2 separate regions of the Homo sapiens genome follow, and region 1 is linked to region 2. Evidence: promoter capture Hi-C in 16 types of primary human blood cells and fetal thymus (Javierre and others, 2016). All regions are on one chromosome and are shown on one strand. The core of a region is centred on a gene start or on the middle of the fragment in contact, and the rest is flanking DNA. Distances in the headings are between cores, read along the strand shown.

Region 1 (5,693 bases), core at 1,037-3,536, 520 kb after region 2:
TGTAGAAGAATGGGCCATTGTTGAGTAAGAGGGGGCCCTGCCTGGCAGCCCTTGCTGAGTTTGCTTGAGGGGCTAGAAACAAAACTCAGTGTGGGGTGCTGGGTATGGCCCAGGAGGGCTCTGAACTCAGTGCCTATAGATTGGAATTTGAATCCCAGCTCTGTCTTGAACAGCTGTATGGCCTTGAGAATGTCACTTACTCTTTCTGAGGTTCAGTTTCCATGCCTGTTACATGGCATCTAACTCATGGGGGTGTTGTAAGCAAAGTAAATTATGTGGAATTTAGAAGATAATTAATGATATGAAGAAAAATAAAACCTGGAAGGATGATGAGGAACGCCTGAGAGGGGGATGGGATAAAATAAGAGGATTTATGCAAAACGAGCAGCTCAGTACCTAGAAGGCAGGAGCCCCTCACGCATCACCACCCTGGCCTCATCTCCTAGGGGAGAAAGATCTCCACTCACCCTGCTCCAGCCACACTGGTGTCCCTGCCAGTCCTCCAATACAATGTCTGGGCCTCTACACTTGTGGTTTCCCCTGTTAGGGAGGCTCTTCACCCAGGTGGACTCAGGGTTCACCCCTTAGCTCGTTCCAGTCTTTGCCCAAATGTCACTTCCACAGTTGGGCCTTTCCTGGCCACTTTGTTTAAATTTGTAAGTGCCCCATCCCCCTCTCAGGCGTTCCTCATCCTCCTTCCAGGCTTTATTTTCCTTCATAGCATTAATTTTCTTCTAAACTCCACATAATTTACTTTGCTTACCTGGTGATAGGTGCTCAGTAAATATTTGTTGAATGAATAAAGAAAAGGCTGTTGATATTATTAGCATCGTTATTACTGTCAGAGTTTGCAGCCTTTGGCTATCTGCTGCCCAACTGTTATTAAATACTGATGGAGATGACTAACATTCATTTCACTAAATTTTAACATCTGTGGGTTTTAGTCCTAGCGCTTTGCTCTTCTCTTTCTTTTCTTTTTCTTTGAGACAGTGTAGTGGCGCGATCTCCACTCACTGTAGCCTTCACCTCCAGGGTTCAAGCGGTTCTCCTGCCTCAGCCTCCTGAGTAGCTGGGACTACAGGCATGCACCACCACGTCTGGCTAATTTTTGTATTTTTAGTAGAGACGGGGTTTCACCACATTGGCCAGGTCGGTCTCAAACTCCTGACCTCAAATGATCTGCCTGCCTCGGCCTCCCAAAGTGCTGGGATTACAGGCGTGAGCCACGGCATGCGGCCCCACTCTTCTCTTTCCATACTTAACTTCCATACTTTTGTTGGCTTGTTTAAATGCATGACTTCAAATACACCCCTTTATAAGTTACTCTCTCATTTACTCTCCAGGATTTGATCAATTGATTACATTTACTATTAAGACCGTTTTCCATCTGCCTATTAGAAAAGCTCTTTTTGGTTGAACCACACTCACTGAATATCTGAATGTCTTAATTTGAACTCATCATGTCCCTTTCAACTTTTCTTGGCAATTATTCCTTTTCTGGATGTTGTGTTTGCAAATAATTCCTGGGATGTGTTTGACTCTTTTTTCTCCCAGGCCTAAATCAACAATCTAGTCTGGCATATATTATTTTGACATCTTTCACACTTGTCAACTGTTAGTCACAAACTAAAACACTTGGGTTATTATCCCAAATGTCCTTCATTCATTTTCCTTCACTCTTGCACACAGTTGTTTCTTGACATAACATAGGCACTTTTATGATGATACTCATTTACTGATAAAGCTGCTGCTGCTTTTTTTTTTTTTGACAGAGTCTTGCTCTCTTGCCCAGGCTGGGGTGCAGTGGTGCAATCTTGGCTCACTGCAACCTCCGCCTCCTGAGTTCAAGTAATTCTCCTGCCTCAGCCTCCTGAGTAACTGGGATTACAGGCATGCACCACCACGGCCGGCTAATTTTTGTATTTTTAGTAGAGACGAGGTTTCACCATTTTGGCCAAACTGGTCTCAAACGCCTGACCTCAGGTGATCCACCTACCTCGGCCTCCCAAAGTGCTGGGATTACAGGCGTGAGCCACTGTGCCCGGCTTAAAGCTTCTTTTTATAAAATAACATTAATTTCTTTCTGATTAGAAAAGAACAGGATTTAATTTCTAAAACATAGAACATACAGAAAAAATGAGTTAATTGAAATCATACATCATCTTACTTAGAGAAACATTCATATTTTGTTACGTATGGGATTAATATATACTTTTTAAAAATAAAATTGTGATTATATTGTCTATAAAGTGTATCCAGTTCTTTCATTGAACATTTATGAAACATTTGTCATGACTTATGATTATATATTCTTCTAAAAAGTACTGATTGAGAGTAACGATATTGAGATTAGACTGCTGGAGAAATAATGTTCAACAGTCCGTCCACCCCTCTGAGGGTAGAGATTGTATCTTTACATCTGGCTGCAGATTCAGAGATGAGGTTGTATCCTGGGTCGCAGTAGAGGACTGAATGCTGAGCAAATGGACATTGAGGGCTCATAAGATGGTTCCCTGTGGCCAAGCTTGGCGGCAAGGGAGAGGAGCTGCCTGCGTGGAAATGGGCCAAACTGGCCAGGCCAGGAAATGAGACAGAGTCACAGGGGAACAACATACAGTGATGGATAAAAATCCAGGGTGAAGTTTGAATCACTGCAAAGATAGGCAGTTAATGGCTCAGCATCCTCTCTATAGGACACCCATAACCCTGTCATTTGCAACAACATGGATGGAACTGGAAGTCATTACATTAAGGGAAGTAAGCCAGGCATAGAAAGCAAACATTGCACATTCTCGCTTACCTGTGGGAGCTAAACAGGAAAACAAATGAACTCATGGAGACAGTAGAAGGACGGTTACCAGAGGCTGGAAAGTGTTGCAGGGAGTTGGAGGAGAAGTGGGGATGGTTAATGGGTACAAAAAAGTAGTAAGAGTGAATGAATAAGGCCTAGTATTTCCTAGCACAATAGGATGACTATCTTCAAAAATAATGTAACCATACACCTAAAATAACTACAATAGTATAAATGGATTGTTTGTAACACAAAGGATAAATGTTTGAGGTGATGGACACCCCATTTACCCTGATGTGATTCTAACGCATTGCATGCCTGTATCAAAATATCTCATGTAACCCATAAATGTATATACCTACTATGTACCCACAAAAATTAAAAATAATTTAAAAAGAACTTCAGAGAACAAACAACAAAAAGACCGGTATGGCTGGAGCAGACTGAGACAGGAGGTTTGAGGCGAAAGGCTCACAGGAATTCCTGTGGGGCCCTGTAGGCAATTGCCAGGACTTTTTTTTTTTTTTTGAGACGGAGTCTCACTCTGTCTCCCAGGCTGGAGTGCAGTGGCACGATCTCGGCTCACTGCAACCTGTGCCTCCCAGGTTCATGCCATTCTCCTGCCTCAGCCTCCAGAGTAGCTGGGACTACAGGCGCCCACCAGAGTAGCTGGGACTACAGGCGCCACCACGCCTGACTAATTTTTGTATTTTTAGTAGAGACAGGGTTTCGCCGTGTTAGTCAGGATGGTCTCAATCTTCAGACCTCGTGATCCGCCCGCCTTGGCCTCCCAAAGTGTTGGGATTACAGGCGTGAGCCATCCCACCCGGCAATCGTCAGGACTTTGGCTTGGACTGTGAGTGAGATAGGGAGTTGCAGGAAGCTTTTTCGAAAAACCACCTTTGGGCCAGGTGCAGTGGCTCCCACCTATAATCCCAGCACTTTGGGAGGCCAAAGCAGGCAGATCACTTAAGGTCAGGAATTTGAGACCAACCTGGCCAACATGTTGAAACCCCATCTCTACCAAAAAAATACAAAAATTAGCCAGGCATGGTGGTGCATGCCTATATTCCCCGCTACTCGGGAGGTTGAGGTGGGAGGATCGCTTGAACCCGGGAGGTGGAGGTTGCAGTGAGCCAAGATTGCGCCACTGCACTCCAGCCTGGGCGACAGAGCAAGAGCCTGTCTCCAAAAACAAACAAAAAAACCCAAAAAACTTCTTTTGGCAGTGTACAATTATTATTACTATTTTTTGTAGTAAATTTACAGAGATCTGCAGTCATGACCACAATCCAAATTTAGAACAATTCTATGACTTCAAAGGGATGCCTTAGAGCCGTTCCCTGGAACCACTCCTCTGTTCTCTCTGTATCTACTGGAGGGTTCTAAGCAGAAAAGAAACAAAGTCTGACTTATATTATTATCACTATTGCACCTTTTCTGTTAAAACATCATAATCCCAGCACTTTGGGAGGCCGAGGCGGGCGGATCACGAGGTCAGGAGATCGAGACCGTCCTGGCTAACACGGTGAAACCCCGTCTCTACTAAAAAATACAAAAAATTAGCCGGGCATGGTGGTGGGCGCCTGTAGTCCCAGCTACTCGGGAGCCTGAGGCAGGAGAATGGCGCAAACCCGGGAGGTAGAGCTTGGGGTGAGCCAAGATCGCGCCACTGCACTCCAGCCTGGGCCACAGAGGGAGACTCCGTCTCAAAACAAACAAACAAACAAAAAAAAAAACCCGTCATAATCTTCCTGTTGCTTTTTCCGATTAGATGGCGACTTGAATTTTTAGGGAATACATCCACCAGTTTGGGCACACCCACCAGGCACGACAGTTGAGGTCTGATCTTCCAGCCACTGTGAGTACTGAGAAAACTTGGCAGGGGGCCACTCTCACTGGCTCAATGCACCCTGACCACTGGAAGCCACTGTGTCAGCTGCTGGGTTCTGGCTCTGCCCACTCTTGGCTGCATTTGGGGCTGAAGTTCCCTGTGGGAGGCTGTTTTCTGAGGGAGCTGAGTGTTTACAGCCACTCAGCCCTGCTCTGCTCAGCTGAAGCAGAAAACAGAGACCTTTTGCATTACTTTGGTTCAAGAGCAAGGTAATTTGGAAAGAAATTTTTCAGACGAAGGTATCAGCTGCCTCTGAGGCCTTTGCTGATTAAATCAAGAAGTGACATCTGAAATGGTGTCGGGGAATGGGAAGGAGGCCTGGGGATTCTAAATTATCAGCTGTTTAGGTGGCTGAGGAATCCAGGGGTGGGAGACTGAGGAAAAGGACTGGGGCAGAGCTCAGTTCAGGAGAGGTGAGGGGCGGGAGAGGTGAGGGGCGGGAGAGGTGAGGGGCGGGAGAGGTGAGGGGCGGGAGAGGTGGGTCAGAGAAAGGAAGTCTCTGAGGCTGCAGGCCTAGGCCTGGTGGCCACTGCAGAGGCTGGGGCCTATGTTTTTCCAGGAAGTGAAACCTGAAAGTCACTTTTCCCCTTTAAGCCTCATTTTCTTTATCTTTAAATGGAGAAAATAACATTTACAGCATAGAGTTGTTATAAAGATTTCATGAAATAATGCCTCTAAGCACTCTTAAAATGCTTGGTACACAGTAGGCCTTCAATAGACTGAAGCTGTTATGGTTTTTCTTGTTGTGCCACGTTATTATTGTTGGTTGTTATTACCATATTTTGTTATTATTATTACTAAGAGGAATTTAATGCAAGGAAACTGAAACTGAGGTCACACGCAGCTCCCGGGCCAGTGCCTCTCAAACTTTAACATGCATATGACTCATCTGAAGATCCCGTTAACTTGCAGATTCTAATTCTACATATGTAGGGTGGGGTCCCATCTGCTGGTCCCAAGATCACACTTTGAGTAGCAAGACACTAAAACTGGGCTGGGCACAGTGGC
Region 2 (4,955 bases), core at 1,878-4,377:
GCAGTGAGCCGAGATTGCGCCACTGCACTCCAGCCTGGGCGACAGAGTTAAACTGTCTCAAAAAAGAAAGACAATCATGATTCCCATTTTCCTGTTGCGAAAATGAAGGCAGAGACGTCAGGAAAATTGGCCAGAGGTTCACTGGAATTTACAGGCTGGCCTGGGACTAGCCCCCATTTCTCCCAGCTCCTGACCTCAAGGCGTTTCTGCTGCATCCCTGTTCTGAATCCCTCACGTGTGGCAGAGGCTCAGGATGGGGCTGCAGAGCCAGATCCCCATGCACCCCAGCATCATAGTCTGTCCCAACTCACTCCTGCTGGAGCCTCTGGTCCATTTCCTGCTCTGCAGGATTAAACTGTTACAAGGTTTCCTGACTTCAGACCCGCTCTTTCCCACACCCCCAATTCTCACCCTCTGATATCTTTTCCGAGTTACAGGATCTCATCATCTTCATTTCCCAATGCTGACTAGACCACTGGCCCATTTGAGGGCTCTCAAATTAAAAAATCCTCATAGGTTAGTAAACAGGGTTGCAAGAACACAAGCTCTGTGATCCATGAATATGCAAAGCAGCTCCAGTCCTGTAAATAAAAGCAATCATTGAAATGCAAATTGCATCCTTGGCTGCCCGATCCACAGTGGTTGGTTCCTCTCAGGCTGTAATTCCGAGAAGAAAATGTGACTAAGCGGAACCCCCAGGAAGCTCTGCGAGAAAGTGCTTACGGGGCCGTGGGCTCCGGGGGGCTCCGTTAGAGTGGATAAAAACTGTATGAAAGCAGGGAGTGGATTTTAAAACCTGAGCTGCTCCTCCAGTTGGCTTGCAGTGGCTGGCTAGGCTCAAAGCGGTCCCCCAAGGCTGGACAGAGCCCCTTGGAGGCTCCCAGCGTCTCTCTATCCCCATGGGCAGAATGGAAAGGGGGGCTATTTTCCATTTCCTTGTCAACGTCAGGGGAGCTTCTACAAATCAGATCCCATGGCCTCCCACTCAAAACCCTCCAAGGGTTCACTGGTCCAAACAGAATAAACCCTAAACTCCTTTCCATGACCCAAAAGATCATGATCTGGCTGGTCCCTACCATTCCCCTATCCCCACCCCCAAATCTGCCTACAGCTCCAGCCACAATGGCCTTTGTTCAGTTCCTCTAAGCTCATTCCCACCTCCAAGCTTTTGCAGGCACAGTGCCTTCCTCCTGGTTCAGTCTTCCTCCAAGACCTCCCAGCGGAGGGCCCCTCTTCTAGCTGGGCTCCACTCAAATGTCACTCCCGGAACAGTCATCTCAGGTACATACACCCCTGTCACCTTCTTTTACATCACCCCATCTTATTTTCCTGGCCGTCCTCACCCCAATCGGATTTCATAGCCATTTGCTATGGGTTTGTTTAATGTTTGTCCACTCACTTCCCCAGCCCCGGGAGAGCAGGGGTTTTGTCCGTTTTATACAAGGCACCCAGTTCTGTCCCTGGCACGTTTCTTGAAATAACATATTAATCCAGTAAAGATTCTGAGTTTATCTTTCTAACAAAACTGCCTGTCTTGCTGCCTGTGCCCCCAAATGGCGGCTCCTTCCTCCTGGAATCTCCTTCCCTTCCCAACTCAGCTGACCCCTTTCCAGGCTTAGAGCAGGGAGCAGATAGCAAACTGTTCACTCCACAGTCTTAGATACCAAACTGGCCGGGAGGGCTTCCAAACGACAGATGCCAATTTGCATTCTATTTACATGTCATTTGCATGCAGTTTAACTCAAAGCCTGGATCCTCCGCAAGCCCGAGTCCCCACCGAAGAAACTTCTGAATTAAGAAGGTTCCTTGGCTGAAGTGCCGGGGTTTTTGTGCCAGATCCCTCCCCCACTTCTCTTGTCTTTGCGGGGTCCCCCAGGGCTTTCTGGGCTCTGTTCAGGTGCCCCCCGGCCTGGTGCAGTTGGGCGGCCAATGTGGCGCGTGGGCTGGGGCCCCAGGCGGGGACGCCGCTGCCCGCCACACTCCAGGGGCCTTTGTCCGCGCTCCAAGGAGCCGCCCCCTTAGCGAACGGGGGACGGAAAGGGAGGACTGGCTAGGCCTGGGTGTGACAGAGCAAGGACGGAGGAGTGAACCCGCTGCACGGGGGAGATTTCTGGGGCAAGGTCGTTGGCCCCTTCCCAGGCTGTTCAACCGGCTGCCCGGGGCCAAGGCGGGTGCGGGCTCCTCCCGCGCGCTCCCTTTTCGGCCTAAGCGCTAGGGACCCCGGGATGTGTGGGGTCCTTGTGGGGCTGGAAGCCTGTGTCCCCCAAGGAGAGGGGACCGAGAACAGGTCTAGTCCTTATCTCCAGCCTAGCCGCCTCTTCCAGAGGTCCAAGTGCCCCCTGTCTGGAAGGGAAACGCCACTGCCCCCCCCGCCATTGTATGCAGCCGCCCCCTCCTCCCCACCCCTCCCCGTCATTCGTCCCCAGCCCAGGTCTCAGCTCTGCCATCTCCCACCGCCGTGTCCCCCCCTCCCCTTGCTGAGTAATGCGCACTCAAGCCGGCTGCGGGCTTGACCCCCAGCCCCCGCGACAGGTGCGGCTGTTCACCCCCAAAGTCCAGCCCTTGTGCCCCCGGCTGCGTCTGCCCTGTCCACAGTCAGCCCCCAACGCGGCCCCAGGACCAGCCCGCAGCTCCTCACACATGACGAGTCACTAGGACACGGCTGGGCTCCTTTACCCTCCCAGCTGCCCTTCACCTGTGGTCGCCCCCACACCCTCCTGGGAGACTTGGATCTCTACCTGGTCCGGGCACAGTCTCCCTCCCCCCGTAAAGGTCCCCAGATCCTCCCCTCCCCCGCCCACCCCTCTACGGCTCTGCTCTCGTCGCACCGTGGTTCCCCTCGCCCAGATTCCACATCTCCCCCAGCAATAAACTCCCTGGCTTGGGTTGGGGGGGCGCTTAGAAAAACACAAGAAGCGGACCCCCCAATTCTCCCAAATCCACGGCGGGAAAAGTTTCTGGGGTCCCCACAGCGTCCTCCACTGCATCGGCGCAGCTCGCACTTACCGACCCCCGCGGCCCCGCAGCGCCGACGCTCCAGCTGGCCTTCGGCCCGAGTCACATCTCTGCGGCGCGGCCGCGGCCCCCGCTCCACGCACGCCCGCCTGCGGGTCCAGCTTCACTGCAGCGCCTGCCAGAGTCGCTGCCGCGCGAGGCGCCCCCTGGCCCGGCCCGCGCTGCTGCAGCGGCCGCGGCCCCGCCCCCGCCCCCGCCCCCGGCCGGCCCCGCCCCCGGGCCTCCGAGCCCCACCCCCGGTCCCGCCGGCGGTTCCGCGCGGGGCTAGGCGCCGTCTGCATGCACCCCCGGAGCCCAAGCTCGTAGCTTCTAGCCCGGATCTCAGAGACGATTCCCCCGACCTCGTGCCCCCAATTCGGGGACATTCCCCCCACAACGTCAGTGCGCCCGTAAGCAGTCCAGACGAGCCGGGCAACTCCCCAGGGTAGATCCATTTGCGGGAACACTCCCCTAGCCAATACACTTACCGAGGGAGGTATCGCGACCCAGGGGTCCCAGCGCGGAAGCCTTCCTGCCCCCAGGCCACGCTCCAAGGGGGGTTCATAAGCAGTAACTTCCCCGAAACACACCAGCACCAGGTCCAGGACGCAGAGAGGATCGATCCCGCCCGGTGCCTCTCGAAGTCACCAACGCCCCGGTATACACCTAGGCGCACACACACCGCTAGGCCTCCTCCAGGCAGGTTCCTCCTGGACACACTCTTCTCTCTCCTCACTGCCCAACTCCCAGATGTCGTTGTCCGTTTACGCACACTGGGACCAACACCCGCTTCCTTGGCCCCTCGAAACACACACGTCCAGTCGGTGCACCCCTCACGTGGGTCCCTACGCAGGATCGCCACCACCCCTACCGCACACATCACCCACGTACGCACATGTCCACTGCCCTTCAGGGCTCACACACTCAGCGGCCCGGGCCACTGGCCGTGCGCTCCGCAGACGGTCAGGGCACAGCCCGGACGCGTGTCCGCTGGGCGGCCGTGGGACCTGCTTGAAGGAGGGGTCCGGGGCAGCCGTCTCTGAGTCCCCCTCACCCCGTCCTAGTCCTCAGGCCTCTCCGAGGTCGCATTGCTTCGACCAGGCCTGGGAGCTGCGCTCCGGCACCCCATATGGGGCTGGTTCCCTGGGTGACCTTCAGACCATCAAACCCTGGCAGTCTCAGGTGGCCCCCCGCCAAAGCCAGAAACAGACCTTTGAGCAGCATCCCTTCCCTGCACTCCAGATTCTCAGGGTGAGATTTCCTTTCTCCCTCCGCGGTGCGCCCCCCAATCTCTACCCCCGTCGCCGCAACCATCCCAGCCACATAAGACCAAAAGGGATAGGACGGACCCCTGCTCCCCTCTCCCGGGGGCTGCAGGAAGGGGAGATGCAGAACACCTCCTTCTGGGAATAGTGGCAGCCCCTGATCTTTGGGGACCGTGGCCCTTCCAGATACTCCCATCCCTCCCTGCCAGCCTCCCAGTTCCGGTCCGGTTAGGCCACATCCCCCTTGGGCACGCATCTCTGGGATACCTTTTATTATATTCAAGGGAAAATGGAAAGGAAGAACCATAATGGCAGTTTTTCGCCCCACTCCTGGTTTATTTGCATGGATCCTCAGAGCCCAGAACAGTTCCAGGCACAGTAGGCGCTCATTAAATGTTTGCGGGACGACCCAAAGTGTGTTCCCGCCAGACTGCGCAATTGGAAAGTGGATGGGCACTGTCACCTGGTGGCAGCTCTTGGAACTGACGCCGAGATCCTTTTGTCAACGTGGGCAAGTTCACTTTCGTGAGCCACATGTCCTCAACGTCTGCAAAATGGAGATCTTTTTCATCGCACATGCCTATTGGGGTTGTTGTGAAGGTCTAACACGTGCTAACATATAAAGTGCTTCACGCAGGGTCTGGCATGTGGAAAATCCTTAATATGAGCTGATTAACATTGCAGTTACGGTTATAT

Evidence for each region. Contacts are between HindIII fragments. The CHiCAGO score rates a contact against its expected background, and 5 or more counts as called.
Region 1: a fragment that was not itself captured here is called in contact with the fragment with the promoter of GPRC5B in region 2 in 1 of 17 cell types (M2 macrophages); the score reaches 5.2 in M2 macrophages.

The regions. Positions count from the first base shown.
Region 1 is chr16:20,404,772-20,410,464 of GRCh38, forward strand. It overlaps ACSM5 (acyl-CoA synthetase medium chain family member 5), which reads left to right and starts at 4,763. Exons shown (of 14, transcript NM_017888.3): 1 at 4,763-4,894. The HindIII fragment of the contact is 472 bases long and covers 2,051-2,522 here.
Region 2 is chr16:19,881,721-19,886,675 of GRCh38, forward strand. It overlaps GPRC5B (G protein-coupled receptor class C group 5 member B), which reads right to left and starts at 3,128. Exons shown (of 4, transcript NM_016235.3): 1 at 3,007-3,128. RefSeq lists enhancers at 1-410, 411-1,140, 1,141-1,871 and a silencer at 3,387-3,681. The HindIII fragment of the contact is 5,537 bases long and covers 1,164-4,955 here.